Regions from separate parts of the Homo sapiens genome. Here region 1 is linked to region 2. Evidence: promoter capture Hi-C in 16 types of primary human blood cells and fetal thymus (Javierre and others, 2016). All regions are on one chromosome and are shown on one strand. The core of a region is centred on a gene start or on the middle of the fragment in contact, and the rest is flanking DNA. Distances in the headings are between cores, read along the strand shown. Region 1 overlaps NTN1 (netrin 1). Region 2 holds the start of MYH10 (myosin heavy chain 10).

Evidence for each region. The method cuts DNA at HindIII sites, captures the fragments that hold promoters and counts their contacts. A CHiCAGO score of 5 or more calls a contact.
Region 1: a fragment that was not itself captured here is called in contact with the fragment with the promoter of MYH10 in region 2 in 1 of 17 cell types (neutrophils); the score reaches 6.2 in neutrophils.

What each region holds. Positions count from the first base shown.
Region 1 is chr17:9,029,241-9,032,193 of GRCh38, reverse strand. All of the region lies in intron 2 of NTN1 (netrin 1), which reads right to left. Among named protein-coding and RNA genes, the nearest start is that of NTN1, 9.2 kb to the right of the region's middle. The HindIII fragment of the contact is 3,093 bases long and covers 1-2,897 here.
Region 2 is chr17:8,629,374-8,632,277 of GRCh38, reverse strand. It overlaps MYH10 (myosin heavy chain 10), which reads left to right and starts at 1,553. Exons shown (of 43, transcript NM_001256012.3): 1 at 1,553-1,624. RefSeq lists enhancers at 1-147, 846-1,623, 1,624-2,401, 2,402-2,904 and a silencer at 682-1,361. The HindIII fragment of the contact is 12,132 bases long and covers 1-2,904 here.

The DNA of each region.
Region 1 (2,953 bases), core at 102-2,601, 400 kb before region 2:
AGCCAAATCCAAAATGCTCTTCCTCTCAAGACCCTCGGCCCCTCCCTGCACCCCGGACACTCAGCAAAGTGCCTCACTGGGGGCGCCTATCCCTGTTCAGGGTTAGTGCAAGTGGACACGTCTGCACCTTCTCACGTGCACAGCCTCCTTGATGGAAACATATTTCACCTGCAGGGAGGGCATCCACTTTACATTTCTTTTCTTTTTTTTTTTTATCTTCTTTTTTTGTTTGTTTTTGAGACACCATCTCTATCACCCAGGCTGGAGTGCAGTGGCACGATCTCGACTCATTGCAATCTCGGCCTCCCGGGTTCAAGAGATTCTCCTGCCTCAACCTCTGAGTAGTTAGGATTACAGGTGTGGGCCACCATGCCAGGCTAGTTTTTTTTGTTTGTTTGTTTTTGTATTTTTAGTAGAGATGAGGTTTCACCATGTTGGCCAGGCTGGTCTCGAACTCCCGACCTCAAATAATCTGCCTGCCTCAACCTCCCAAAGTGCTAGGATTACAGGTGTGAGCCACCGCACCTGGTCTACTTTACATTTCTTTACATGCCCAGACCAAACAGAGCCACCTGAACAGTAAATGCTCCAGAAATGTCCATGTATACAAAGTACTTCTCTGTCTGCAGGTTGGGGAAGGGGAAGGTCTTCAGAAGGGGACCAAAAATGGCAGATAGTTTTCATCTCATGGGCTAATTCTGCCTAAGGAGTTATATTGAGGAGTCTAATATTATAAGATCATTTCTCGACTTAGGAGGAAAGCATGCTGCCGTTGATTGCCAATGTCTGCCCTGGTTTTAGAATGCGGGAGTGGTGGTACATTTATTTGCTGGGTACTCACCACGGCCGCCCCAAAGCAGAAACAGACGAAATCAGAAGCCCTGACAATGGCAATCAAGCAGGCAGGAAGTGTCCCTCACTTGGGGACTTCAAATATGGAATGCAGCACAGCATACAGGCCCTCAGGAAACTCAGAGATCTACCTCATTTCCTTACATAGGACTCAGTTATTTAAAGCCAGCCCCTTTAGAGGTCCCTGTAGTCCTACAGATTGTCTCAATTAAGTGTGGAGTCTCTGGGATGTGTGAAAATTGGACACAACAACCAATAATCTCTCATCTTCAGGCAGAAAAAGACACGGGAAAAATCTAGAAAATCTAGCAATAGCACCAGCCAGGAGGGGGCACAGATGGGTTCCCAACTAAAATATGACCACGTGTGCAGCGAGCTGAGACCTTACACAGGCCAATTCCTGAATCCTCCAGGGAGACAGACTTCTAGCACCTTCCTCAGCAAGGCACTAGCTGAGTTGAGAAGTGAACTGGAGTGTTACTTTCTGCTTTTAAAGTTCTCACCCAACAAATTTACTTGAACCCTTTAAATAATCCGGAGGTCTACCACACTTACAGAACCATCTTTCTTTTCTTTCTTTTTTTTTTCTTTTCTTTTTTTTCTGAGTCTTGCTCTGTCACCCAGGCTGGAGTGCAGTGGCGTGATCTTGGCTCACTGCAACCTCTGCCTCTCGGGTTCAAGCAATTCTCCTGCCTCAGCCTCCCAAGTAGCTGGGATTACAGGCACGTGCCACCACGCCTGACTAATTTTTGTATTTTTAGTAGAGAAGGGGTTTCACTGTGTTGGCCAGACTGGTTTCGAACTCCTGACCTCGTGATCCCCCTGCCTCAGCCTCCCAAAGTGCTGGGATTACAGGCGTGAGCCACTGCGTCCAGCCACAGAATCATCTTTCTTCTAGGTCTTCTTCACATGCACCAATGCACTGCAGTGTGAATTCATTTCACCCTAACTGTAGTTAGTACACTAATCCCAATGACAGAAGGTCCAGGGATTGCTGGGGGTGGTCCTGACACAGGCAAGAGCGGAGCACAGCTTTCCATTCCTTGGCGGTACTCCTGAACCATAGGTACCCCTTTCTCCTCGGAGAGTATCTTCCTTTGTGCTCTGAGTGCCAGCAGCTGCCTCTGATAGAACTGTGCTTGGGGCAGGAACTTAAGCTCTGGGAGAAAAAGAAAAGGGTCTGATGGGAGACATTCTGTATCTCATCAATCACATGGCCACAGTCCCTTCTCTCCATCAGAGGGGAGAACTGGCACAAAATAATGTATTTGGGGCTGAATACACACCTAGCCAAGGCCTTTTGATGTGGGGGGAAATTCACATAAATTATGTAACTTTTTCTTTTTTTTTTGAGACGGAGTTTCGCTCTGTTGCCAGGCTAGAGTGCAGTGGGGCAATCTCAGCTCATCACAACCTCCGAGTCCCTGGTTCAAGCAATTCTCCTGCCTCGGCCTCCCAAGTAGCTGGGATTACAGGCACACGCCACCACGCCCAGCTAATTTTTGTATTTTTAGTAGACACGGGGTTTCACCATGTTGGCCAGGATGGTCTCCATCTCCTGACCTCATGATCTGCCCGCCTCAACCTCCCAAAGTGCTGGGATTACAGGCGTGAGCCACCGCGCCCGGCCAATGATATAACTTTTAAAACGCAAATTAAAATCTACTTCTTAGTTTACAATAGAAATCCATTTTTGGAGTAAGGAGACAGGAATGCAATACTGAGCTCACTAAGTTGTGCTACGCAAGTCAAACCTCATGAGAGCAGATATCTTTGAGGTGAACGTCTGTATCTACAGGACTGGCCCAGGCAGCTCACTTCTTTCAAGTACTATTCAGAACAACCGTCCCTCCGAGTTGGCTATAATAGGACACGGCTTTTATGTGATCAGTCTTCCAAGCAAACGCTCCTGATACCCCCTGCTCTCTCTGCATGCAACAGTGTCACAGAATAAGCCGAGACGTGCCCTGCAGACTTATCCACACTTAGTCCCGTTTGTGTAAAAGCTGCCCTTTGATGGCCAGGACATCTGTCTTTGAAAAGCTTCCGTTCCTTGTGGCAATCTGATTAATTGAAACAAAGCACATATAAAGCACCTAGG
Region 2 (2,904 bases), core at 304-2,803:
CTGGTTCGGACTTCCCCAGGAAGGACTCTGCACTCAGCTGCCTTCCAGCCTCTTCTGAATTCCACCAACCCTTCCTTAGGACTTCCTGCCTTGTTTTTTGCTTAATTCACTTTTTGCCAGACTAGACGTTTCCTAGGCTTAGGCAAACACATCATTATCACATGTATTAAAATGCTCCCATAGCCTACATTAATAACTGATTAATAACTGCATCTTGCTGTGAATTTTTATGATCTTGACTTTCAGGTTTTGTATGAATAATTCATTTTGTTCATGTGATTTAGACTTTATTATATTTATATATAATTATGCAAGAGTTTTGTTGCAGTTGCCTAGATTCTGCAGACATTTCATTAAATTTTATTTACTTTGATTTTTCCAGTTTCCTTTCGTTATTTTGGGGCCACTGTTTTTCAGTCTCCAACGTTTTCATAAGCCCTAGGGGATATGACAGCGCTACAGGAATCCAGCCTTATATTCTTAAGAACCTCTCATAGCCCTTCACGTAGGGAGCTCTGATGAATGAATGAAGGAGCGACTGAACGAGTGAATGAATGAGGTGAATAAAGTTTCTTCCAAGTTTTCTCTCCAAGGTCGGTTCTCTTCTCATTCTTCTGGAATCTCAGCCTTGCCTGGAGGCTGGGCAGGAGAGCCTCTCACCCCGCTAACACCAAAACTGCGACCTTGGAGGACCGTGTCCTGCGCCTGGCGCTCGGCCGATCCCGGCAGAGTCCGCCTGGGGCCGGGGTCGGGACAGTGGCCGCAGCGTGGAGCGCAGCCGGGTCCCGGGCCAAACCCTGTGCGCATGGGCGGAGCAGCGCCCTCCCCCGCGTTCCTTCCCCCACTGCAGGTGAGTCGCAGCGCCGCGGCCCCAACCCCGCGCAGCCCCGGGGGTGACGTCAGGACTCTGGACCGCGCTCCGCCCCGCCCCTGCAGGCAACGCTGAGGGCCCGCGACTCCGCGGTGGAACCCCGTCCCGCTGCGGTACATGCCGGCTGCCGCAAGCACAGGGGGCGACCGGGCGCTCGAATGTGCTGCGGCTGCGGCGGCTGCCTGACGCTAGGACGAGGAGTCTGCAGTCAGAGCGCCAGCCTCCTGCCGCGGCCCACCTGCCCCGCGGCCCGCACAGCCAATGTCAGCGCAGCGCGCCGGCCGCCGCGGGGCCCGCACCCGCAGCCTCGCGGGATCGCCGGGCGTTCAGCCAGCCTCAGCTGTCCATCTACGCACGAGCCAGCCAATCCCGCGCCACTGCCCCGGCCGCACCTCCCGGAGCCTATGACGGGCGTAAGAGCCAGCCCATGAGATTGGGGCCTCTGTGGCCTGGGCTGGGAGCGGGAGCCAATGAGCGTCATTCCAGGTGGGTGGAGGGAGCCGGACTCGGGAAGGTAGCTTCGTTCGGGTTGCTAACGTCTTCCCTTGGAGATGGGCGCGCAAACCAACCAGTGGGTCTGGGGGCGGCGGTGATGGGCGTGGAGCTGGCCCAATGAGGGTAGGGGTGGGTGGGGCAGCCCCGAGCAGCAGTGCTAAAGGAGCCCGGCGGAGGCAGCGGTGGGTTTGGGACTGAGGCGCTGGATCTGTGGTCGCGGCTGGGGACGTGCGCCCGCGCCACCATCTTCGGCTGAAGGTGAGAGGTGCGGCTACCCGGGTCCGAGTGCACGGCCCAGGGCTGGGGGACAGTTTGTGGAGGGAGGAATGGCTCCTGGGCTGAGGGGTCCCGGGCGGCTCTGGAGGACAGGAACGGGGGACCGAAGCGGGAGCTGGGGAAGACAGAGGGGCTTCTGAGCTGTAGGGTTTGTGCTGCGGGGACCTTAGGTTAGTTTGAGCAGGGTCCTGGGCTGGGGGCACTGGGACCTCAGTGGGTGGAGATGGAGAGACTCCCGGAGGAGCGGGGAATGAAGTCCTTGTGAAACCCGCGGGGGTCAGGGCCTGGGTGTGCAGGAGGGCGACCCCTGGGGGGCTGGGGGATGGAGATCTGGGGGTGGGGACGTGAGGACCAGGTTCTCGGTGGGTGGGATCCCTGGGGGCGCGAGGTCGAGGGGCTAGTGTCCCGGCGGAGGTCTCGGCGTGCCCCGCGAGCCAGTGTCTGCCTCCCAGGAAGAGAGGGGATTCTAAGCGGGGCTGGAAAGCGCAGTCCCGGCGGTAGGGTGGGGGGGCGCTGGGCAGGAAGGGCCCCTGCGTGGGTTGCTGGGTGGGTTAGGCCTGGCGCGACCGGTCCCCCGCAGCACCAGAGGGGTTCACCATGGGCTTGGAAGGCGGGCGGCGCGCGCCCGACCCGTGGGTGGAGGGACAGGAGGGCATTGGCTCTGCGCGGCCGGGGAAGCGCGCGGCGGGTGAGGGGCTCCGGAGCCGGCCGCGGGCGTGGGGAGGGTCGGACTCCGCCGGCGCCGGGGAAGGAGCGCGGGAGGAGGGCGTCCTGCCGCGCCCTCCGTGGAGCGCCTAGGCCGGGGGTGGACGCCCTGCGAGGCCCAGGCGGTTTGAGGGGGCGAGGCGGGAAATGTGGCGGGGCGCGCTGCAGCAGGACGGCCGGGGGGAGGGTCAGCACTCGCCTCGGGATCCCTTTATTGTGTAAGCGAGCTGGGAATGGCTCGCCGCAGTCTCTTCATTGCCTTCTGCAGTTGGGGGTCACACCCTGATCCCATAAAATCGGACTGGAATTGGTTCGGAGGGAAGTTGAAGCCGCGGAGTCCTGGCATTTGTGGGGGCTTTGTGGGCCTGTGGTGGGCGGATGCGGCCCTGGGAAGCGGGAGGCCCCCAGCCAGGCCTGTTTGGAACTAGGGCCTTAGGAAGGAGGTTGGCGACTCGGCGGGTCAGACCGGGCTGGTGAGGTTTGGATAACGTGGCCTCTGCCTACAGCCGTTATCTCTGTTTCTTTAGGGCCTCTGCAGCTCCCTTCAAGATCACTGC